Regions from separate parts of the Homo sapiens genome. Here regions 1, 2 and 3 are each linked to region 4. The links are contacts of gene promoters, found by promoter capture Hi-C in human tissues and cell types (Jung and others, 2019). All regions are on one chromosome and are shown on one strand. The core of a region is centred on a gene start or on the middle of the fragment in contact, and the rest is flanking DNA. Distances in the headings are between cores, read along the strand shown.

What was found. The method cuts DNA at HindIII sites, captures the fragments that hold promoters and counts their contacts. A contact is called where the count stands out against the background at its distance.
Region 1: a contact is called between the fragment with the promoter of CDC42EP1 here and the fragment with the promoter of GCAT in region 4, in 1 of the 25 tissues and cell types used here (pancreas).
Region 2: a fragment that was not itself captured here is called in contact with the fragment with the promoter of GCAT in region 4 in 1 of the 25 tissues and cell types used here (thymus).
Region 3: the fragment with the promoter of SOX10 here is called in contact with the fragment with the promoter of GCAT in region 4 in 4 of the 25 tissues and cell types used here (lymphoblastoid cells, mesenchymal stem cells, ovary and 1 more).

What each region holds. Positions count from the first base shown.
Region 1 is chr22:37,557,207-37,562,989 of GRCh38, reverse strand. CDC42EP1 (CDC42 effector protein 1) reads right to left here and starts at 2,510. Exons shown (of 3, transcript NM_152243.3): 1 at 2,402-2,510. RefSeq lists enhancers at 53-659, 962-1,191, 660-1,267, 1,268-1,874. The HindIII fragment of the contact is 19,033 bases long and covers 1-5,783 here.
Region 2 is chr22:38,060,648-38,067,157 of GRCh38, reverse strand. PICK1 (protein interacting with PRKCA 1) reads right to left here. Exons shown (of 13, transcript NM_012407.4): 4 at 2,028-2,156. Among named protein-coding and RNA genes, the nearest start is that of PICK1, 6.5 kb to the right of the region's middle. The HindIII fragment of the contact is 9,593 bases long and covers 1-6,510 here.
Region 3 is chr22:37,983,215-37,988,962 of GRCh38, reverse strand. SOX10 (SRY-box transcription factor 10) reads left to right here and starts at 4,408. Exons shown (of 4, transcript NM_006941.4): 1 at 4,408-4,624; 2 at 5,095-5,606. The coding sequence starts at 5,179. MIR4534 (microRNA 4534) reads right to left here and starts at 169; the gene lies at 110-169. It also overlaps a transcript of POLR2F not described here. RefSeq lists enhancers at 2,513-3,347, 5,302-5,748. The HindIII fragment of the contact is 28,697 bases long and covers 1-5,748 here.
Region 4 is chr22:37,804,722-37,811,263 of GRCh38, reverse strand. GCAT (glycine C-acetyltransferase) reads right to left here and starts at 3,330. Exons shown (of 9, transcript NM_014291.4): 1 at 3,101-3,330; 2 at 1,107-1,237. The coding sequence starts at 3,296. It overlaps H1-0 (H1.0 linker histone), which reads right to left and starts at 6,035. Exons shown (of 1, transcript NM_005318.4): 1 at 3,832-6,035. The coding sequence starts at 5,719. The coding sequence ends at 5,135. RefSeq lists silencers at 3,226-3,515, 5,870-5,949 and an enhancer at 4,944-5,639. The HindIII fragment of the contact is 28,064 bases long and covers 1,515-6,542 here.

The sequences.
Region 1 (5,783 bases), core at 1,261-3,760, 250 kb after region 4:
CTACAGGCACATACCACCATGCTCAGCTAAGTTTTTCCACTTTTTGTAAGGACAGGGTCTCACTCCATTGCCCAGGTTGGTCTCAAATTCCTGAACTCAAGCCATCCTGCTGCCTCAGCCTCCCAAAGTGCTGGGATTACAAGTGTGAACCACCACACCTGGCCTCCCTGACTTCTTGAGGCAGCACCTCATCTCCCAGCAAAAGGGGCTCCTCCCCCCTGAACCCCCATGGTCACTTTTGACTTGGGGGACCAGCTTCCTCCCCAATCTTGCGATGATCCCATCTTTCAAATGTTTCTGGGCACCCCCCCAATAGTACCCACCCCTCACACTACCCTGCCTACTGCGGTCGAGAGACTCTGCAGCGCTGTGGAGCTGAGGGCAGGGTATTGGGACCCGGTCTTCCCATGTGGAAAACGGAACAGCACACCAGGCAGTTCCCCTCCCAGGGGAGTTGCAAGGGTAGAAAATGTAATGAAACCCTCAGATACTGGAGCAGGGCAGCCATGGGTTCAAATCTGACACCTTTACACTAACATCTCTCATTCCAGGGACCCCGGTGGCAGCCACGTGGCACTTGCTGCCAACCACAGGGCACTGCTGGCCATCAGGTGTGCCTCACCTGGCACTGGAGTAAGCAGGGCTCCAAGTGTCCTGGTGCCAGGCTCACCTCCCCTCACCTGCTCAGGAACACCGCCCGTTAGTGTTCAGAACACCCCTTTCACAGATGGAAAAAACGAAGCTCAGAAAGGAGACATTTACCCTCAGTCACAGACCAACATTGCTGGTAAATGCCCCAGGGTGGGGGTGAAGACGATGGGGAATGGGGAAGACGATTTGGAGGGCTTGGATGCCCAGTGCTGAGCCCGGTGTGGGGTGCAGGTGCAGGCCTGGGAAGACAGGAGACCCAGCTCTGCAGATTCACTGCCTGTGACCTGGGCAAGGAGGTCACCACACAGCCTCAGTGTCCTTGGAGTCCTTATATTTACCCTATAGAGGATAGTCAGGGCCTGGGCACATGGCCTGAGCTCACTCAATGGTGGGAATGACGCAAGAACAAGTTTTGGAGCCGGGATCGGGCCAACAGGGGTCGCTGTGGAGGCACATGTGGTCGCGGGGAGGCCAAGGGCGGGTCTGAAGGAGAGCGGGGGCGGCTGCACCCTGGCATTCACCTGGGGGTCACCCGCAGGCCGCAGTGCTGGCCAGGGGCCCACGTCTCATCCTGGAGGCCACTGCTCGGGTGCACACAGCCCACTTCCTGCGGGCATCCAGCTGGGTGACGCCCCCCCCCACCGCTGGACAGCGGGTCCCTGTCATGGTTACGGCAGCTCCCCCAAACCTGCTCTGGTCCCTGGAATAAGGGGTTAAACCGGTCGGCTGACTTCTCCTGCTCCTCAAAGTCCAGACGCTTCAAGGTGGAGAGACGGGGAAACTGAGGCCAGAACGGGGTAGCTAGTTGTTCGCAGTCGCGCTAGGGGACCCGGTCCTCCGTATTCCAAGGGGGGCACCGTGGGCCATTAGGGAGCGACGGGGAAAGTGGAAAGGAGACGCGCTTCGTGCCCACCGCCCCGAGTTAGAGCCGAACCAGCCCGGGACCGAGCGAGACGGAGCGGCTGCGGGCCGCGTCTCGGGTCCCCGCGCCACGTTTAGTGCCGCTGCGGCCTCCCGGCCAGTCCCCCCTACTCTCTAAGCCTCAGTTTCCCGGTCTAGGAAAAGGGCTTCGAATGTTGCGGGTCTGGCACTGCTGGGGCAAAGGCAGAACAATCTGGAGGGCGGCCGGGATTGGAAGTCCGGGAAAGACTTCGGCCATCCAACATTCCCTGGGGGGACGGGGCTCAGGACGCGGAGGGTCGCTCCGCGGGGGAAGGGGACGACCGGCTGTCTTGGCCGGAGGGGAACCGGACGGGATGACCTCATCCGCGGCTCCAGCCTGGAATGCGGCGGTCGGGGAGGGGGGCAGGGTGCCTGTCCATCTCCCCGGGCCCCCCACCCCCCACTTCCCGCTCTCCGCGTGGGCCTCGGCGGAGGGGAGACATTCCGCCGCGTCGCCCGCTGCCCGCCCCGGCCCTTCCTTCCCCCGCGCAGGAAGGCGCGGAGACAGCCCCCGCTCTGCCCCTCGGCTCGCCCCCTCCTCGCGCATTTTGGCCGCTCAGCCGTGTCCGATCCTCTGCCCCCTCCACCAGCCTGGAACGGGACACGAAGCCCGAAAGCTCGGAGTTTCCTCGCGCGGCTCCGCGGCCGCGCCCGGCCTTCCTGTGGGCACCCGGGGGCGCCTCTCCCGGGCGGGTCCCGTCCCCGTTCCGGCCCCGGGAGCCTAGTAGGGTGCAGAGTCCCCGCGGGCGCCGGGACCCGCCGGCCTCCACGGCCTCCGCCCCGAGGACCCGCGCGCCCGGGCTGTTACCTGGCTCCGCGAGCCCCGGGGGCGCGGGACGAGGGCGGACTCGTCGTCTGCAGCGGCGGCGGCCGCGCGTCCCGGCTGGCAGCCCGGGAGAGTCGCTGGGCCGGTCTGCGCCGCCCTGGCCGCGGGCTCCGCGGGCTGGATCCGGGGGCGGGGGCGGGGTGTGGGCGCTCCCGCCTCCCGCCCGTCTCCTCCCGCCCGCGGGCGGGGCCCGGCCCCCTCCCCGGCCCCCTCCCCGGCACCGTCCTCGCGGCCGCCGAGAGCTGGCAGGGACGCGGCTGGGGGGCCAGGCCAGGCCTCTGCTCGCCACCCCGGACAAGGCCAGCCGGGGAACGTGCGGGCTGCCCCGGGGAGGCGACTCCGGTCCCCGGCCGCCAACCCCTCTTCCACCGGTTCCCCTCGTGGCCTTGCTTGGGGCGTCCAGGCCTGATGAACTCTCCTCCCTCCTGGGCCCTCCAGCCGCGCCCTGCGGGAGTTCGGGGAACCGGGAAGCTCGATCTGAGGCCTTGAATGCCTGGGCCTTTAAACCTTGATGTTTACAGGCATGACATGCCCACTCCTTTGCTCCCCATTCTCATTCCCTTCCATCCGGTACAGGCCCCGCGGTGCCCAGGAGGAAGACAGCCATACTGGGGCGACTGGTAGAGTGGGGTAGAGTGGCCGTCAAGACCGGGACCCTGGAGCCGGACAGCCTGGGCTCCTGTCCTGCCTCAGTCACTACTTACCTTTCTCTGCCTCAGTTTCCTGATCTGAAAGTGGGATAGATAATAGCAGCATCAGATGTTGTGTGAAGTGTTTCCTGCTCCAAGAGCACCTAGGAGGCTTGCTCGGCAGGTAAATGAAGTCGCATCTCAGAGACTTTACAGACCCTCCCCCCACCCCGCCCACCTCCATGGAGGGCAGGGAATCAGCCATACCCGGGACCCTGTGCCATCCTCAAGGAGGGGAGATAGATCTCTGGCCCCTGCCTCCCGTTGTTGTGCCCTCCTTTGACTACTCCCATCTGACTATAGAGTCCTCGGGCTGTCAGGGCACAGAGAGGTCCCTAATACTTCCTGCAGGGCCTGGGGGCTCAGGAAATCTTCCTAGAGGAGATGATACCTGAGTTAAGTCTCTCTCTCTCTCTTTTTTTTTTTTTTTTTTTTTTTTTTTTTTTTTTTTTTTTTTTTGAGACGGAGTCTCTCTCTGTTGCTCAGGCTGGAGTGCCATGGCATGATCTCAGCTCACTGCAGCTTCCACCTCCCGGGTTCAAGCGATTCTCCCTCCTAAGCCTCCGGACTAGCTGGGATTACAGGCACCCACCCACGCCCGGCTAATTTTTGTATTTTTTAGTAGAGAGGGGGCTTCACCATGTTGGCCAGGCTGGTCTTGAACTCCTTACCTCAGGTGATCCGCCTGCCTTGGCCTCCTCAAGTGCTAGGATTATGGGTGTGAGCCACTGCATGGTTGTGAGTTAAGTCTTAAAGGACGTGTAGGCAGAGGGAAGGGCAGTGGAAATGCACAGTGCACAGCTGGCAAGGGACAGCACAGCAAAGGCTGGGAGTGGAGGACCCTGCAGCGGAGGCAAACCCGGCTGAAGGAGACTGGCTGAGCGCTGTTGTGGCCGGGGATGAGGAGCTGTATTTACCCGCAGGTGGAGGAGACAAGGTCTTTACTGTTCACCCAGGGGCTAGGCCTCTTCCACTGGCTCCCTGAATCCCCATGCTGGCCACCAAGGGAAGGAGCTATTTCTGCAGCTGGACAAATGAGGAAACAGAGGCACAAAGCATTCTAGCATTTGCTCAAGTGGCACAGCAGTAGGAACTCTTTCCCTGGGGGCCGGCCCAGGAGTATTTTGTCCCATGGAGAACTGGAACAGCATCAGGACAGTGAGCCAGCAGGCAGCACTGGCAGGTGTACATTTAGAAGACTGACTGTTGCCCGGCGTGGTTGCTCACGCCTGTAATCCCAGCACTTTGGGAGGCTGAGGTGGGCAGATTACTTGAGGCTGGGAGTTTGAGACCAGCCTGACCAATATGGTAAAACTCCGTCTCAACTAAAAATACAAAAATTAGCCAGGCGTGGTGGCGGGTGCCTGTAATCCCAGCTACTCGGGAGGCTGAGGCAGGGAGAATTGCTTGAACCTGGGAAGCGGAGGTTGCAGTGAGCTGAGATCGCACCACGGCACTCCAGCCTGGTCAACAGAGCGAGACTCCATCTTAAAAAATAAAAATAAAAAAGTGCCGGGCGCGGTGGCTCACACTTGTAATCCCAGCACTTTGGGAGGCCGAGGCGAGCAGATCACTTGAGGTCAGGAGTTCGTGACCAGCTTGGCCAACATGGTGAAATCCTGTCTCTACTAAAAATACCAAAAATTAGCCGGGCATAGTGGTGGGCGCCTGTAATCCCAGCTATTCAGGAGGCAGAGGCAGGAGAATTGCTTGAATCTGGGAGACGGAGGTTACAGTGAGCTGAGATCGTGCTACTGCACTCCAGCCTGGGCGACAGAGCGAGACCCCATCTCAAAAAAACAAAAAACAAAATAGAAATCTGACTGTGAGTGAAGAATGGACTGGAAGGACAGTGATGGAAACAAAGAACTAGTGCTACTGTGGTTATTACTATTAATAGCATCAGTAGTAACCAGCACTTATTGAGCACCTGATGCATACCAGGTCCTGTAGCTCATTAACATGCATTATGACATTTAATTCTTGTGAGAGCCCCATAGGGAAAGTCCTGCCATGGTGTCCCTTTTGCAGATAAGTGAAGTGATTTGCGTAAAGCTCCCTACTTTGGCAGGATGGCCATACTTTCCAGTTTGCCTAGGACAGCCCAGATTACACATACTGTTCCAGTGTAATTATTAATAGCACTTCCTTTCATTCTCAAAGGTGACCTGGTTAGACAATCAATTACACGTCACTCTAGTCAGAGGATCCCTAGAGCGGCTGGTAAAGGAGGCAGTCTGGTGCAATGTCAAAGGCCCTGAGCTCAAATCCTGGCCCAGTGGCTGACCGTGGGCAAAGCACTTGGCCCATTTGAGCCTCAAGTTTCTCATCTCTGAAATGGGTATAATAGCAGTGTGGGTATTTACTAGTTGGGGTGTTGTGAGCCCCAGGCAGATGACTGAGCAAGCAGTCCTGATGGAAGTGGTTACAACCTGCCCCATGCTTGCTCCATCTTCTTCACCCGCGGGCAGGGAGGGCAGGCAGGAAAGAACAAGAGGTTGAGAACCTCCCTACTATATATGCCACACGCTTTGTCTTCTCCAGCTCATTGACAGGCAACCTGTGAATCAGGAATTCTTGCCCCCTTTTACATCTGGGTAAGCTGAGGCAGAGAGGAGCCCTCTCCCTCCTTTGCAGCCTGCCTCCAGATAGAAACCTATCTCCATGTAGGCTGT
Region 2 (6,510 bases), core at 2,159-4,658, 260 kb before region 4:
CGGTCTCTGATGTCTTGTGCTTCGGCCAGGTCAGGCTCTCCTTCTTCCCTCCCCACGCAAACCACACTCCAAGCCTTTGCCGTGTCATTTCCCTACACTGATTATTCCCTCCTCCACCCCAAAACACCCCATCCCCAGGAATCCCTCTACTCATCGAACAGCACATCTGAGCACTTGCTCTGTGCCTGGTGCTGGGGCACCAAGGGGAGGGGCAGGGGCAGCCCCAGCCCCGCAAGGCTGATGCGAATCAGGGAATTACACAAACCACTTTCTAACGACTGCTCAGGAGACAAAGGCTTCTCCCAAGAGGACTTGCCTGAGCACGGGAGGGCGCTGTGTTCACTCTCATCCTTGCAAACCAAAAGCCCTTGAACTTGGGACCACATTCATCCAAATATAAAACAGGATTTTAAAATCAAGTCCCAAAGGGAAACCAAAATGAGCAGATGCAATCAGAGTCAGAGGTGGGGTGTGAACTGCTCCCGCAGAATGAAACACAGGCGTGCTCAGGGGCCACCCCACAGGGAGCAGCTGTAGGCCAACGGCAAGCGGGCTGCAGTGGGAGTCGGGCCCGGGCTCCAGTTCAGCTGTGTGACCACAAGCAGGTCACTCCCCGCCTGTGGACACCTGTAAGATGGGAGAGTAATCCCTGCCCAGCACCCAAACAGGGGAGCTGGGCCAATGCTGCATCCCTGTCATGGCTGTGTGCAAATACAAAGAGCTCTTGTCCTCATGGGCAACCTGAGGTGCTGGTATGACCAAGCCTGAGAGGACAGGGAGGGACCTGGCGAGTGGAGATGGGGAGGAGATGCGGAGGGGGGAAGGGCTGCCAAATGGGGCACACACAACCCAACTCGGCCAGAACGAGACCCCCTGCACCTGTTCCCATGATCAGCTCCTCTGCCTAACAGGTCATACCTGAGGCAGTGATACCCAGACCACGTGGAGTGGCAGCTGTGGGGTCTCAATGAACCTTGCTGCTTCCTTTTTTTACAACAGAGCTCTGAGCCCCAGCCCCAGGCCCTGATTTGTCCTATGGCTAAAGGGGCTGGAATAGGAGAATGTGCAGGATGGGACTCTTCCTACAGCAAGGAAGGAGAGAAGCACGGACTACTCAGGAGCAGGACAGGAGGATAAAGGGGAGAGAGGATGGAGCAGCGGCTGGCCTGGGTTAAGGCAGGAAGGCGGACTATCAGGAGTGCCAGAACCCGGAGGATGGAAGTGGGGCTGAGGGAGGTAGCTGCCACCCTTGGCCAAGCTGAACTCACAGTGGGGACCCTTGCCCCCGAGACTTTCAAATCACCCCATGGCTGTGCACTGCCTGCACATCAGTTCTTTCACAGTATTGGTTTCCTGAGACTAGCTAGCAGCCACTTCGCTAGGAAATGGCAAAGGGGCTGCATGCTCGCTTCAGGAGAGGCCGGGATGCCGCCTGCCATTCCAGTCCTGGAGCGGCAGGGGTGGGGGAAAGCGGGGCAGGCAGTGTGTGACTCTGGTCTGTAGAGCAGAAGATCAGCTGGCCTGGGAGGGGGGTCTCTGGGTGTCTATGAGCCCAGGAGGCTGTGTGGGACCGAAAGTTCCTACAGGATGGGGAAAGGGCACTCTTCTTTCCCTCCTAGCCCTCACAGGCCCAGCGTGACCCGGCTGACATTATTGGGTGTCTACTGACCCAGGGAGGATCACCTTGGACTTTTAGCTTCAGCTCTGGCACTGACTGGGGACACATGGGCTTGCCTGAGGGGTGGTTCCAAGTCTGTCAGCTCCCTGGGAGCTCATGGGGACCTTGTGGTCTTGCTGCCCACTCTCTTGCCAAGGTTCAGCACAAGTCCTGGAGCACGATTAGTATTTATTGAATGAATGAGGGATGGATGAGGGAGGCTGGAGTGTGACCCTGACCCTGCACATGACAAGGAAGGGGGCGGTGAGGGCTGATACCCCCTTCCAGGCCTGCTGGGACCTCTGGCAGCCTGGAGGTCTCAGAAACATGTGTTGCTGCCTCTGGACACCTGCTCTGCAGCAGCCCTTACCTTCACCTCCTGAATCATCTTCGCCACCTCCACCTTAGTTTTCCCTTTGATTGACCTGCCATTGACACCGGTGATCTCATCGCCAGCTGCCACTGTGCCGTCCAAGGCTGCTGGGGTGTTGTCAAATACCTGTGGGTGCATAAGGAGAGTGGTGGGGGAAGAAAGGGAGGGCTAAGATGGAACCTGGGAAGACACCTGACCACTGCCTGGCTCTGTCTTCCACTCTACCCTCTGCTCTCGTTTTTTGAGAAAGCGTCTCACCACCCGGGCTGGAGTGCAGTGGCGTGATCACAGCTCACTGTGGCACTGAACTCCTGGGCTCCAGCAATTCTCCTGCCTCAAATACATAGTCAAATGATTTCTTTTTTTTGAGTCGGCGTTTCGCTCTTGTTGCCCAGGCTGGAGTGCAATAGCGCCATCTCGCTCACCGCAACCTCCGCCTCCCGGGTTCAAGCAATTCTCCTGCCTCAGCCTCCCGAGTAGCTGGGGTTACAGGCATGCGCTACCACGCCCGGCTAATTTCGTATCTTTAGTAGAGACAGGGTTTCTCCATGTTGGTCAGGCTGGTCTCAAACTCCCGACCTCAGGTGATCCACCTGCTTTGGCCTCCCAAAGTGCTGGGATTACAGGTGTGAGCCACCGTGCCCGGCGGCATCAAATGATTTTTGACAAGGGTGTCAAGAACATTCAATGGGGAAGGACAGTCATTTCAACAATGGTATGTGAAAAATGAAGTTGACACTACTTAACACCACATACAAAAATTAACTCAAGGCCAGGCGCAGTGGCTCACACCTGTAATTCCAACACTCTGGGAGGCCAAGGCAGGCAGATCACCTGAGGTCAGGAATTCGAGAGTAACCTGGCCAACATGGCGAAACCCCATCTCTACTAAAAATACAAAAATTAGCTGGGCATGGTGGCAGGCGCCTGCAGTCCCAGCTACTCAGAAGGCTGAGGCAGGAGAATCGCTTGAACCTGGGAAGTGGAGGTTGTAGTAAGCCGAGATCATGTCACTGCACTCCAGCCTGAGCAACAGAACGAGACTCTGTCTCGAAGATAATAATAATAATAATAATTAACTCAAAATTGTTCAAAGACCTAAATGTAAAAGTTAAAACTATAAAACTCAGAAAAATGCCTAGTCCAAAACCTTCACGACATTGGAGTTTACAGTAATTTCTTGGATGTGACACCTAAGATCCAAGTAACAAAAAATAAACAAATTGAACTTCATAAAAATTTTAAAACTGGTGCATCAAAATACACCATCCAGTCTGGGCAATGTGGCAAAACCTTGTCTCTACAAAAAACACGAAAATTAGCTGGGCATGGTGGTGTACGCCTGTAGTCCCAGCTACTTGGGAGGCTGAGGTGGGAGGATCGCTTGAGCCTGGGAAACAGAGGCTGCAGTGAGCTGAGATCCCGTCACTGTACTCCAGCTTGGGCAACAGAGTGAGACACTGTCTCGAAAAAAAAAAAAAAAAAGAACAGAGAAGAGAAGAAAAGAAAGGCAACCCACAGAATGGGAGAAAATATTTGCAAATCACATTTTTGATAAGGGATTAATATCCAGAATATATGCAGAATTCCTAAAACTCTTTTTTCTTTTTTTCCTCTTAGCCGATTGTGCTTTGTAGAGAATTCTTAAAACTCAACAACAAAAACCAAACAACCTAATTCAAAAATAGACCAAGGGCTGGGCACGGTGGTGCGCACCTGTAATCCCAGCATTTTGGGAAACCGAGGTGGGAAGATCGCCTGGGCAATATGGCAAAACTCTGTCTCTACAAAAAAAATACAAAAATGAGCCAGGCATGGTGGCGCGTGCCTGTAGTCCCAGCTACTCGGGGGTCTGAGGTGGGAGGATCGCTTGAGCCCAGGAGGTTGAGGCTGCAGTGAGCCATGATCGCACCCCTGCACTCCAGCCTGGGCGACAGAGCAAGATCCTGTCTCAAAAAAAAAAAAAGTTAAGATGGTAAATTTTACCACAATAAAAAAATAGAAAAAAGCAGAACAGAGAATACAGAAAGCAGGATGTCATCATCGAGATACATGACAAGAAGGACATGGTGTTCCCGATGACGCCCTCTGAGGATCTGGCACAATAAACAAAAGCCTGTGCCTGCAGCTACCATCACGACTCCTCCCAACACCAGGGACAAAAACAAAGTCCTCAAAGTTCTCACAGATCAGAAATAAAACACATCACAAATAAAGGATCACCAATAAGAATGGCAATAGCCATGTGACAGCAAAGGACAATGTGACAAGGCCATCACACTTCCACACAGGAATTACTGTCAACCTTGACGTTCATTCTTGAATCGAATGAGCCAAAATGTCAACTGAAAGGAATATGGGAACCACAATGACCAAAAAAGACAGACCCGAGGTCTCAAAAAATTGACATCCCACGTGCCCTTTCTCAGAAAGCTACAGGAGGATATTCTCCACGGGAGATCAGGGAGTAAACCAGGAAAGGGACCCCCAAGATGGGGGAATCCAAAGAGAAGGGGCAGGGGCAGGGGGAGGGCACAAGGGGGAGAGACTACAGGGCGGAAAACAGACTGAAGAAAATGGGGCCGGGCATGGTGGCTCACGCCTGTAATCCCAGCACTTTGGGAGGTCGAGGCAGGTGGATCACTTGAAGTCAGGAGTTCGAGACCAGCCTGACCAACATGGTGAAACCCCGTCTCTACTAAAAATACAAGAATTAGCCAGGCGTGGTGGCACGTGCCTGTAATCCCAGCTACTTCGGAGGCTGAGGCAGGGGAATCACTTGAACCCGGGGGCTGGAGGTTGCAGTGAGCCAAGATCACGCCATTGCACTCCAGCCTGGCAACAGAGCAAGACTTAATTTAAAAAAAAAAAAAAAAAGATGGGAAATTGTGGAAAACATACTGAGAAAACAAGGAGAGTGCAAATGAAAAAAACAAAACAGGAAATTACCCCCACCCTCTCAAAACACAAGAACAGGCTGAATTAAGAAAAGAAACATAGATTCCTCAGAAAGTTAAACATAGAGTTGTTTTGACTAGAATGAGGGCTCCGCAAGAGTAGGATCTTTGCTTTCTTATTCTTTTATCCCTAGTGCCTACAACAGAGCCTAGGAGGCATCTGGAAAAGATTTCCCGAACAAAATCTCCGTTGTACTAATATTAATTTAGCCAAAAATAGAAAAATAACTATGTTGGAAAGGTGGGATGAGAGGAAACAGACTGGTCATGGGAAGAACTAAATTCTCATCTACCAGACGAGGCAAAGTCAATAGATATTTACAGGTGATAGATCAAGAAACAACAGGATAGGCTGAGCACGGTGGCTCACGCCTGTAATCCCAGCACTTTGGGAGGCTGAGGCGGGTGGATCACTTGAACCCAAGAGTTTGAGACAAGCCTGGGCAACATGGCAAAACACCGTCTCTACAAAAAATACACAAAAATTAGCCAGGTTTGGTGGCACGTGCCTGTAATCCCAGCTACTTGGAGGCTCAAGTGGGAGAATCATCTGAGTCTGGGGAAATCAAGGCTGCAGTGACCCATGCTTGCACCACTGCACTCCAGCCTGGGCGACAGAGTGAGACTATTGAGAAAAATGGAAGCCCATGCATGAAGAGACAGAGAAAGCCGGGTGAGGTGCCCAGGGGAAGGGCAGTGGATTGCTATTATTTGATACAGGGCTTTTAATGCTCTTGACTTGGTAGAGGCAAGTCATATGGCACTTTGATAAAAACAAAATTGAATTTAAAAAAATCAATTCTATGATGATGATGATTATTATTATTTTTGAGACGGAGTCTCACTCAACTGCCCAGGCTGGAGTGCAATGGCACGATCTCGGCTTACTGCAACCACCATCTCCCGGGTTCAAGCGATTCTCCTGTCTCAGCCTCCCAAGTAGCTGGGATTACAGGAACCCGCCATCATGCCTGGCTAATTTTTGTATTTTAGTAGAGACAGGGTTTCACCATGTTGGCCAAGCTTGTCTGGAAGTTTTCACCTCAGGTGATCTGCCCACCTCAGCCTCCCAAAGTGCTGGGATTACAGGTGTGAGCCACCGCACCCGGCCAGTTCTATTATTTTATTGGCTGGTGGTTCATGCCTGTAATCCTAGCACTTTGGGAGGCTGAGGTGGGTGGATCGCTTGAGGCCAGGAGTTCGAGACCAGGCCGGCCAACATAGCTAAAACCTCTCTCTCCTACAAATACGAAAATTAGCTGGGCATGATGGCGCACACCTGTAATACCAGCTACTCGGGAGGCTGAGGCATGAGAATCGTTTGAATCCAGGAGGCAGAGGTTGCAGTGAGCTGAGATCACGCCACTGCACTCCAGCCTGGGCAACACAGTGAGACTCTGTCTCAAAAAAAAAAAAAAATCAATTATACTATTTTATGATGTCTGTTCATTCTAAGCAAACTTGCACCTGAGGTAGGTAGAGGGAGGTGGCGAGAGGCTGAGCAGACACACGGCCAGGAGGCC
Region 3 (5,748 bases), core at 3,159-5,658, 180 kb before region 4:
CACTAACCTGTGCCCGTCGGCCCTCCACCTTCCCAGTGCATAGGCCCTCCCCTGCCACACCCCAAAGCTCTCCGGATACCCCAGTATAACCTGCCTGGCTGGTGGGTCCAGTACCCAAGACCCCTCCTCCATCCCTGGTGATTTTGGCTCTGGAAGGGGGTCATTCACAGCCTCAGGGATCCAGAGACTCTGTGAAGACCTCCCAGGGAACTTTATGCTTGTACCTCAGCCCCAGAAATTCAGAATCAACCAGTCTGGGGTGGGATCTAGGCTCCAGTATGTTTTTTTGTTGTTGTTGTTGTTTGTTTTTATGAGACAGAGTCTTACTCTGTCACCCAGGCTGCAGTGCAGTGGTGCGATCTCGGCTCACTGCAACCTCTGCCTCTTGAGTTCAAGTGATTCTCCTGCCTCAGGCTCCCACGTAGCTGGGATTACAGGTGCGTGCCACCATGCCCAGTTAATTTTTGTATTTTTAGTAGACATGGGGTTTCACCATGTTGGCCAGGCTGGTCTCGAACTCCTGCCCTCAGGTGATCTGCCCGCCTCGGCCTCCCAAAGTGCTGGGCTTACAGGAATGAGTCACCACGCCTGGCTCAGTATGTTTTTCTTTTTTTCTTTTTTTTTTTTTTTTTGAGACAGAGTTTCGCTCTTTTTGCCCAGGCTGGAGTGCAATGGTGCAATCTCAGCTCACTGCAACCTCCACCTCCCGGGTTCAAGTGATTCTCCTGCCTCAGCCTCCCAAGTAGCTGGGATTACAGGCGCCTGCCACCATGCCCAGCTAATTTTTTTTTTTTTTTTTTTTTAGTAGAGACAAGGTTTCACCATGTTGGCCAGGATGGTCTCAATCTCTCGACCTCATGATCTGCCCACCTTGGCCTCCCAAAGTGCTGGGATTACAGGTGTGAGCCACCACACCCAACCAAGGCCCAGTATGTTTTTCTTAACTCCACAAGTGATTGTAAATTCAACAAGAATTAGAGCCAGTCCTAGGCAACTGATTAGAAATGCAGAACCTCAGGCCCCACCCCAACCTGAAGAATCCCAGTGCGCCTTCCCATTTGAGAAGCACTGCCCTACGCCAAACCCCGTATCCGCAAGCCAGGCCCTGTGAAAGGCCCCCGCAGGGAAACTGGAGGTAGGAGGGCACACAGTCCAGATAGAATTAAAGAGTGGAGGCCAGGACCCCCCAGGTCGCATCCACACAGCACTCAGAGGTGCTAAACGCTTTCCCTGTGTTCCCTCATCCCATCTCAGCCCTGTCCTCTGAAAGTCAGGAAGACAGTCTCATGCCTGTGTGGGGAAACTGAGGCTGGGGCAGAGCCTCAACTTGACCAGACCATCCCTCACTCCTGCATGGCCCCTGGTTCTGCAGCCAGCAGATTTCCTGACCTTCATCTCAGTGTATCCTTCAGGGCAGGCAGGGAGGGAGGGTGACCATCGCCCCACGTGACAGGTGAGGGACCAGGGACCCAGTGGGGGAACACAGGCGGAGCCTTCCATAAAGCCGGACCAGCTCCCTCAGGAAGAGGACTTGGGAGCTGGGGGGTGAAGGGTCACTGCTGACCGGAGGCAGCTCTGCCAGGCAGTGTCATCAGTGGGCTTCACGTTTGACTGACAGGTATTCCTTTCCTCTCCTCCTCTCTGGGGCCCATCTTCTGAGTAAATCCGGGACCTGCCTTAACAAAAGCCAGGCTGAGTCCCAGGAAAACCCTGTTGCTCCGGAAAGGCCTCCTTGGGCCATGGAAGGAAGCCTGGATTTCCACCATTACACTCAGACCGCAGACCCCTCTCTGCTGCAGAATAAACACCCTGAGAGAAGGCAGGTCATAGAGCCTACCAGACACCACACCTTGCCATGGACGGTGACAAACCCTCACTTCAGGACAGAGAGGTGATGGGGGGTGGGGTAAGGAGGTCACAAGCATCCCTGGAGAAGGGTCAAGAATGAGGGGGTAAAGGGACCCCTGCCACCCCCAGCAGGGAAAGGAGGAGAAGGTGACACTGGCCCTCCTGTTGTCCTGCTGGGGCAGAGGCCCAGGTGTCTTCAGCCAGGATCCCTCCCCTCTCCAAGCTCCCTGCTCTTCAGGAATGACTATGGGTCCTTCACCCTTGCCTGCTGGAGAGCACTGGGTTCCCAGGGCCTGGGATGGGATGGAGGGGATCCCAGTTGCCAGCATGGTGGGCAGGGATGTGTTCGCAGCAGGGGCCCCAACCACACACACACAGCACTGGTCATCTGACAGCCCTTCCCACCCGCCCTGCAGGCCCACCTGCCTCACCCAACACTGCTCAGCAAAAAGCCCAGCACAGCCCTGAGAGGAAGGCAGTGTCTGTGCGGGGACAAGGGAGAGAGAGAGGGAGTGGCCCCTTCTGTCTAGCGTGGCTTCCTGCAGACAGAGCGTGCCCACTGCTACCCCCACCCCCATCCTGGCACAGCTGGACCAAGGAGGGCAAAGGAGGAAGCAGGGAGTTAGAGAGGGGGCAGCTGTGGGACCCCACATTCCACCTCCTAACTCTGGGCTCTTTCCTTCCACAACCACCCCTCCTGCCCCAGGCGGGTCTCAGGCCAGTCACAGACACAGCAGAGAGCGGGGAGGTCCTTTCCTCAAAGAGGAGGAACTGAGGGGTGGAAGGATGAGTGGGGACCCACCGGGAGAGAGAGATGCCAGGCAGGCAGGCAGCGGGCGGGCAGCAGCGGGTGTTGGAGGCGACTGCAGGGCAGCCGGGACACGACGGCAGATGCTCGTCCCTCGTCCCTCTGTCCATCCAGGGCGGCTCCTCTCCGGGCGGTTCTGAGGCCGAGCGGGCGCTGTTAAAAAGCTTTTTATGTGTGTGTGTGTTAATCACATGATTGCCGTTCACCTGTATTTCGAACAAAGACAGCTCACTGTTTCAAGGCCCCGAACAAGAGTCTGGGCACAGGGAAGAGAAGGGAGGCGGGGGGAGGAGGGTTGGCAGCGCCGGGGGTGGCGTCGAGGAAAACTGGGGGGAGATTGTCCAAGGCCAGCAAGCGAGAGAAAGAGAAAACCCTTATCAAACTCCTAATTCACTGGGCTCCGAGGCCCCAGACACACTGGCCCGATTGTCTGGCTGGTTGTGTGTGTGAGCATGTGTGTGTGTGTGTGTGTGTGTGTGTGTGTGTGTTCCAGTGTCTGCTCCCCCCACCCCCAACATGCCTCTGCCTCGTGTGACTACCTCATTGTGTCCCATTTCCCACCCCCTACACCCCTTTGGACTTTCCCAAGCATGAGGCCTTGCCTCCCCAGACCCTTTGCAGCCCACTCCAGACAGGACCCCTTGGGGTGGTCTTGGGGCTTTGCCCTGCTGTTGAGGAGCTCAGAACGTCACATGGTTGCCAATGCGACCCCAGCTCCATTACATAACCCACATACACCCCACCTCGGCCTCAACACCCCGGCGGGGCTGCCCTCAGTTAAGAGAACAGCACTGCGACCTTTGGAGGAGAGGCCAAGGAAAGAGAGAGAAAAAGGTGTCAACGGAGGATGGGCAGGAAAGAAAAGGGGAGGGAGGGAGAGGTGGGCAGAGGAGGGAAGAGGCAGGGCAAGTCCCCACCCCTTGTTGGGGTGGGGGAGTAGAGGACTTCGTGACAATCAGGACTAGGACTCCCCTACCCTCTCCCAAGACAGGGTGAGCCCAGTGTGGAAGGAGCTGGGTCCCAGTAGGTAGCAACCCAAAATGCCTCTAAGACCTACTGAGAGAGGGCCCCCAACCTGTCCCACCTTGGCCTCCTGGCAGCTTTAGTCTTGTGTTTCCACCTTGAACCAGACCAGAACGCGCGTGTGCTGGGTGTCTGCAGAGAAGGGACCAGGGGTCAAGCTGGGGCTCTGCACTTCTCAGAGGGATCCCTGAGAAGTCTCTCTTACTGTGCAGGATGGGGCAGAAAGGGCTGCCTGGGAAAAGGTAGGAGGCAGGGTGAGGAGCTGGGCATCAGTGCCTGGCACACACTAGGCACTCAACAGGATTTCGCAGACGAAGCAGCTAGGGCCAGCCACCCTCACGGGCCCCCAGGACCCTCACCGCCTTCACGTCTCTCCCTAGTCCCCTGCCAAGTGCCCATCCTGCCACCTGAGGCAGACGTTAGGAGTCCTGGTTGGGCCCAATTTTCTTCCATCCAACAGGTTCTGACCCTCCAGCCTACATCTCTTCCTTCCTCGGCCTAACCTCCCCTCCACCTCCCAGACTAAGCCCAAGATAAGCCTCAGCAAGATGGGCCTGGGCAGTAGGGCAGGGAGCTGGGTGGGGGGGCCTGGGCTCCGGGTGGAGGAGCCCTGAGTGTTGGGGATGAAGGAAAGCCTGGAGGCTCCACCTTCTGCCCTTCCCTCCCTCCTCTCCCCTCCCCCCTCTCCCCCTCCTTCCTTCCCCAGCCCTCCGCAGCGGCTCAGGCTCAGTCGCTCAGTCAGTCTCGGGCTGTCCGGCCAGGGTGGTTGGTGGTAAGGATTCAGGCTCCGTCCTAACGAGGCCGTGGCCTGAGGCTCAGGGCCCCCCGCCCCTCCCTCCCAGCCCACCAGCGTCACCTCCCAGCCCCGAGCTGGACCGCACACCTTGGGACACGGTTTTCCACTTCCTAAGGACGAGCCCCAGACTGGAGGAGAGGTCCGAGGAGGTGAGTGCGCAGCCTGCTCCTCCCTGGCCCGCCCAGGCCTGGGACCCTGCTGTGAGGTGGAGAGAGGCGACACCCCGCCCTTGCCCCCCACCTGGCTCTCCTCTAAACCCCGTTGGGGCAGGCTGAGGGAAGAAGGAAAGGTGAGAGAAAAGGTGGGAAATTCCAGGGGCCGGGATTAGAGCAAAATAAAGGCTCCGTTTTTTTCTTCCTTATCATCAACAAACCTCCACCCAAAAAAGGAGGCTAAAAAAAAAGCCACCCACACCAAGAGACGGTTGGGACCAGGTGGTGGGAAGACACAGAGGCGGGACGCACCCACCTAGAGTCTGGCATGTGCGTGGGCCCCAGGGGCCAGATGGGTTTAGCTGGAGCAGGAAGGGCCGCCACCTCGGGGCTGTGCCCACGTCCTGTCTCGGGCCGCCCTCGGGGCTGCGCGCGCGGCCGCTCCATCGCGCCCTCCTTCCATCCAGGTGGGCGTTGGACTCTTTGCGAGGACCCCGGCGGCTGGCCCGGGGGAGGCGGCCGAGGCGGCGGCGGCGGCGGCCGGGGGCGACATGGCGGAGGAGCAGGACCTATCGGAGGTGGAGCTGAGCCCCGTGGGCTCGGAGGAGCCCCGCTGCCTGTCCCCGGGGAGCGCGCCCTCGCTAGGGCCCGACGGCGGCGGCGGCGGATCGGGCCTGCGAGCCAGCCCGGGGCCAGGCGAGCTGGGCAAGGTCAAGAAGGAGCAGCAGGACGGCGAGGCGGACGATGACAAGTTCCCCGTGTGCATCCGCGAGGCCGTCAGCCAGGTGCTCAGCGGCTACGACTGGACGCTGGTGCCCATGCCCGTGCGCGTCAACGGCGCCAGCAAAAGCAAGCCGCACGTCAAGCGGCCCATGAACGCCTTCATGGTGTGGGCTCAGGCAGCGCGCAGGAAGCTCGCGGACCAGTACCCGCACCTGCACAACGCTGAGCTCAGCAAGACGCTGGGCAAGCTCTGGAGGTGAGCACCCGACCGCCCCCCGGGCTCGGGCCCTCTAGCTTCGGGTGGATTCAGGGTAGCCGAGGCGGCCCGGCCTCCTGCACCTCAGAGCGGGACTGTCTGGCAGTCCTCCTTGGATAGGGCTGGAAGACCAGGTGTGGGG
Region 4 (6,542 bases), core at 2,081-4,580:
TGATCCGCCTGCATCAGCCTCCCAAAGTGCTGGGATTACAGGCATGAGCCACTGCGCCCGGCCTATTCTAAGCATTACATGTATTAAGTCTTTAATTTGTAATGATCCTATTAAGTGCTATTATCTTCATTTTCCCTATGAAGTAATTGAGACAGAGAAAAGTTAAGATACTTGCCCACAGGAACAGGGACACTAAAGGGCAGCACTGGCAACTGTGCTCCCGTCAGAACAGCCCCAGAGCCCTTAGTCTCAGTTCCTGCCGCCTACTCCTCTTTTCTTATAGAAGGTCAGGTGTGAGGGACTCTGTTTTGCAGGTGGGAAAATGAATGCTCAAAAAGGCAGTTTCCACTTTGGAAGGCCAAGGTGGAGGAGATCACTTGAGGCCAGGAGTTCAAGACCAGCCTGGCCAACATGGTGAAACCCCATCTCTACTAAACATATAAAAATTAGGCCGAGTGCGGTGGCTCACGCCTGTAATCCCAGCACTTTGGGAGGCCAAGGTGGGTGGATCACGAGGTCAGGAGATCGAGACCATCCTGGCTAACACAGTGAAACCCCGTCTCTACTAAAAATACAAAAAATTAGCCGGGAGTGGTGGTAGGCGCCTGTAGTCCCAGCTACTCGGGAGGTTGAGGCAGGAGAATGGCGTGAACCTGGGAGGCGCAGCTTGCAGTAGCCAAGATCATGCCACCGCACTCCAGCCTCAGCGACAGAGCGAGACTCCATCTCAAAAAAAAAAAAAAAAAAAAAATTAGCTGGGTGTGGTAGCATGCCTGTAATCGCAGCTACTCAGGAGGCTGAGGCATGGAGAATCCCTTGAGTCTGGTAGGCGAAGGTTACAGGGAGCCAAGATTGTGCCACTGCACTCCAGCCTGGGTGACAGAGCAAGACTCTGTCTCAAAAAGAAAAAATATATATATAAAGTTCCTTGGCCAAAGCTTTTCAGCAAAACAGAGGCCTGCACTCAGCCTTTCTGCTGCACAGCTCTGAGGCCAACAGTAGGCCCAGGGCTGTGGCTGAGCTGAGCTGGCTAAACCAGCCTTGCTGACTGTGGGAAGCAGGCAGCTGGGGTCAGTCCCCACAACCCCCCACCACTCACTGTGTACCTGGGTTCCACAGATAAAGCGGACAGAGCTGAGGCCAGCTCCAAACTCCTCCAGAGCCTGCAGACCTGCCTGGATCACCTCAGGGTGGCTGCTCAGGCCCAGGTAGTTGTTGGCACAGAAGTTAAGGATTCCTGAGGTGAAGGAGAGGAGATGGATACAGCAGCTCAGGTGGGGCAAGGGCAGGCCTGGAAAGATGACAGTGCCAGGCCCTGGGGAAATGGTCCAGAAAGGAAACAGACCTGGAGTCACCATTGAGGAGGCACCAAATTCAACAGCTACAGAAGGAGCGTCAGTGCTACACATCTTGAAGAGCAAGAAGTTTAAACTTTTTTTTTTTTGAGACAGGGTCTAGCTCTGTCGCCCAGGTTGGAGTACAGTGGTGCAATCATGGTTCACTGTAGCCCCAACCTCCCAGGCTCAAGCAATCCTCCCACTTAACCTCCTGAGTAGCTGGGACTACAGGTGCGTGCCACCATGCCCGATTAAATTTTTTTATTTTTTGTAGAGATGGGGTCTCATTATGTTGTCCGTGCTGGTCTCGAACTCCTAGCCTCAAGCAATCCTCCTGCCTTGGCCTCCCAAAGTGCTACGATTTCAGGCACAAGCCACTGTGCCCAGCCTAAACTCTGGCTTTGAATCACATTCTACCCAAGGAGGAACTCAGCCCTTCCTCACAGGCTTCTCCTGTGCCTGAAGACCACCACTGACTCCTTATCTGACCCCTTGGTTTCCTTGAGGGTTAAAGAAGAGGGCTGGATCAGACGCCTGCTGCAGTCCTGGAACTCCACAGTTTACTTTGCTGCCAGAATCACACCCCCAAAGGTAGGTGCCTGAGATACCAGTCCCCGAATTCTAAAGCCCAGAGTGAACACAGCTGACCTTAGGAGCAAACAGCCAGAGGGGAAAGTTCACACAGCCTGGGAAAGGCAAAAACAGGATGAGAACTTGGGTCTCCTAATTTCCCATCTTTTGACCGGCTCTAAGCTTCCCCTGAGGGAGAGAAGGGATTACCTGGGACCTCTGTTTTACAAATGAGTGCAACAGCACCAAGGGTTCTATGCCTATTTCCTGGGCAGAAGGCAGCTTTGGGAGCTTGTTGATGATTACCACTCACCTGAGGCCTGACACGAATAAGTCAGGTGTAACCACTGGTTAGAGTGAAATGAGGGAGGGCTGGGAGTGGTGGCTCACGCCTGTAATCCCAACACTTTGGGAGGCTGAGGCGGGAGGATCACTTGAGGTCAGGAGTTCGAGACCAGCCTGGCCAACATGGTGAAACCCAGTCTCCACTAAAAATACAAAAATTAGCCGGGTGTGCTGGCACGTGCCTGTAGTCCCAGCTACTTGGGAGGCTGAGGCATGAAAATCGCTTGAACCCGGGAGGCAGAGGTTGCAGTGAACCGAGATCTCGCCACTGCACTCCAGCCTGGGCGACAGAGCAAGACGAGACTCCATCTCAGAAAAAAAAAAGGAAAGAAAGAAATGAGGGAGACCTGGCAGGGCCAACTCATCATGTGATTTCTGTGGCAGCCCTGGGACCCCTTGCTTGCTATGAGTTTACCCAGCAAGCTGTCCTCTCTGGCCAGTCAGGCAATGTTCCAGCTCCAATATTCCAGCGCTGCCTGCAGCTAGCTGGGGGCTTTTGGGCAAGCCATTTCACATCTGTGGATTTCAGCCTCTTCGTTTGTAAAGTGGAATTAGTCATTCCTGCGTCTAGAAGTTAGCAGGAGTTCACGTGCAGCAACAATTGGTAGAGACCTTCACAAAGGAGCCGCTCAAGAAATGCGGGTTTTCTTGCTGGGCAAATCGCCTCCCTCCGTCAAAAGGGTTTAACCAGGCAAGAGTCAATATTAGGAAGCCATAAAGTCGCCCTGAGAGATGCGAAGGGGAACAGTAGCTAAGAGTGTAGGAGCCGCCCACCCCCACCTCCAGGACCTCCATTCCAGCGCAAGCTCGGGAAAGGTCTTGGAACGACTCCCGGAACGGAGCGTTACCTCCGGAGACGCCGTCCACGCGGATGTGCGGCCCCTGACGGGACGTGATGACCCGCTCACTCTTCCAAGTGCCAGCTCCGCGGATGCCTTCCAGCTCCCCCTCCAGAATGCCACGCAGCTGGGCCAGCGCTGACTGTGCGCGGCGGCCGCGGGGCACCCAGAAGAGTGCGGCGCGCCAGGCGTTCCCAGGCCACATCGCTCCTACCTCGCCCGAGCGCGCCTGCCTGCCTGGGAGCCGTGCGCATCGCGGACGCAGCCTGGTCGCGTGGCCGGGGGCCGGGCTCCAGCAGCCAATCGGAGCTAGGGGGGCTCGCTTAAAAAGGCGGGGAGGCGGGCCTAGGACGGGTGGGCGGGGCCTGGCGGGATCCGCCAGGGACCGAGAGGCTTGACTTGTAAGTTGAGACTGCCGAAGTCCGGATGGCAGAGGGGAGGGAAGGGGGCGGAGGAAGTCGCGTCAGGGCCAAGCCCACCAGACTCCCCACCGCATTCCCACGTACTCACCTCTCGGCCGGAAATGGGGTACCCTCTGGACCCCAAAGGCAGAAGCCTAGAAGCCGGCTAAGGCACGTTCCGCAGCCTCCGGGACTAAGGATTCCTGGCTTCTGTCCAGCTCCTGAACCCTCCCCCGCCATTCTCAGGTGCAAACGCCCCAGATGTCCCCACTGCCTGCCCGCCTAACCGCTCCGCATTCATTCTCCAGTCTTCAAAGTGAGGAAAAATACACCGCTCAGTTTCTCCCTTTTCCAATTTATTTTAAAGTTTTAAAATTACAAAGACAGCAAAATTTTCCCGGCACAAGTAACACTTGTTTAAAAAAGGGGGTGGGGGGGGGACGCGCAAGTGCGCGATTTTTCTATTTTATTAAAAATAAGAGAAAGACAACTGTACAGGTTTTTTCTCCCAGCTCCCGGGTGTGAAACTAAGTACTAGCCCTAGATATGTATATATACACAAACACACACATGCACACAGATCTAGCTCTGTAAAACTACTTAGCAAATCCCAAATCGACTGCAGTAAGTCTTACTATCCACTGCCCGCCCACTCCCCCTCCCCCTCCCGCAGCTACAACTACTTATAATAAAGGACTCAAAAAGAGATCGGGAGGTTTTAAGTGGCCGCAGCCCCACCAAACCAAGCAAAGACACCTCTTGTACAGGAGGAACAAAAATCCAGAGGAAAAGAAAAGTCTTCCTAGGACACAATCCATCGATTGCGTGGAAAAACCTAAGTTTCAACAGGGCACACTGAGGCACTTGGCTGACTCCCCACCCTTCCCCTGAAGTTTTCACTCCGGTTTAACAAGAGAATTTGCTGAAGCCACAAAGATCCCCCAATGGCTACATCCTAGCTGACTGGGAGAAACTATGGCTTCTCCCATCCAGCTGTCACTTGGACCCCACTCCCCTTCCCTAAGAAAATAGGGAGGCCGAAAGCGCAAACTAACAAAAATGAGAAGGAAACTGGGTTTGGGCCCCCACTGCTCACCACTGGGAGGTGGAAGTCAGCCCGGTGGCGGTTTTTTTCCCCCTCCTTCCTTTGCCGGCTGGCTGCTCCCTACCACCTCTCTCCTGCTGGCCAAAGGTTCTGAAACTCTCACAACGGGTGCCCAACTCAAAGAAAACTCACTCACCCTAAAGATATTCCTGCTAACCTCACAATTCCTGGGTTCCCTCTCATCTAGCCAGAACAAACTGCCTTGTGTCTTCTCCCCACCCACATCTACCTTCATGGCAAACAAGCCAACAAAACACACAAGCCCCCCCCGCAAATCCCTAACCCCGTAAGTAGGTTAATAGCAAAACAAAATATAAGTACATTCTCATCATTAGATTGGTTGTTGCTGTCCTTGCACAACTGGTTAAGGAAAAATGAATTATTCTGTAATTTCTGAAGAATCCAAATCCTGTCTCTTATAAAGTCAGAACAGAAGGGGGCAAAAGGTGGTGGTGAGCATCAAGAGAGAAAAAAGGAGAAAATTATTTACAGAAAATAGGAGACAGGAGGGAGTGTCCGCAAGAAAAGACTTCATTGTCACTTCTTCTTGCCGGCCCTCTTGGCACTGGACTTTGCTTTGGGTTTCACTGGTTTGGCCTTTTTGGGCTTGGATGCCTTGACCGGCTTGGCTTTGACAGTCTTGGGTTTTTTGGCTTTCTTGGGCGTGGCAGCCAGCTTCTTCTTGGCCTTCTTGACCGGGGTGGCTTTGGGTTTCTTGGTTGGGGCTTTGGAGGCAGCCTTCTTGGGCTTGGATGCCTTCTTTGGCGTGGCTACCTTCTTGATTTCCTTCTTGGTCTTCTTGAAGGCCACTGACTTCTTGGGTTCGTCGCTCTTGGCTAGCCGGAAGGACCCCGAGGCCCCCACCCCTTTGGTCTGCTTGAGGACACCGGTGGTGACCAGGCGCTTGATGGACAACTTGATCTGCGAGTCAGCGTTCTCACCCACCTTGTAGTGGCTCTTGATATACTTCTGAATGGACTGGCGCGAGGAGCCAGCGCGGTTCTTCTCGGCCTGGATGGCAGCCACGATCATGTCTGAATACTTGGGGTGGTCTGTGGACTTCTTGGAGGCCTTGGCCCGCTTGGGCTTGGCCGCAGGGGCGGACGTGGAATTCTCGGTCATGGTGGCCTGTCTGGTCCGGCTGTTGAAGGCGCCTTCCAAAGGGCCAGCCCTCGTCGGAGGCTGAGCAAAGCCTGCCTCGGGATCTGCTCCTGAGCCCCTGACTACCGGGCCAGTCTGGAGTGCGGCTCCCGGGGATGCGAGCGAGGAGTCGCTGCTTTTCCTCCCCGGCTCGGGTGTCGGGAGAGCTCGCCGAGCCGGCTTTGCGAGGCCCAGCCCCGCCGGTCTGTCGCTTGGTCTCGGCACCGGGCTCGGGCTCTGCCTCTGCCTCTGCCTCTGCCTCCGCCTCCTCTGCCTCCCTTTTCCCAGCTCCGCGTCTGGCGCTTGGGCGGCGCATCCGGGTATTTAGCGGCGGCGGGCGGACCGCGGTGAGGACAGGGCTGCTGGCTGCCTGCTCCCGGCCCGGAATGGCGCTGCGCCGCCGCCATCTGTGTTTCTTCCGCCGAGCAAATCCGACCTTTCCCCCCGGCCCGGGCCTTCCTGCTCCCCGCCGCCGCCCTGGGCCGCTGCCTGGCTCCCTGGGCTTCCCCGCCGGGCGGCCCGCTGGCCCGGCCGCCGCCCCCCGCGCCCGCCACGCACCCCAAACGGCGCCGAGGACCGCTGGTGTGCCGGCACATTTCCCCTTTGCGGGGGGCTGGCTCTGCGGGGCTAGGGAGCCTCGGTGCGGGAAACCCCCCGTAGCAAAGCTCTCCCCTGAGGCTACCGGGGGCTCTGCTCCCGGCCCGCTGCGGGGTCCCCTAGCCCGGTGGAGCTGCCGGAAAGCGGCCCCAACTAACACACGCGGCCCCGAGCTGGGCGACTCCCAGCCGGGCCGAGCCGGGACAGG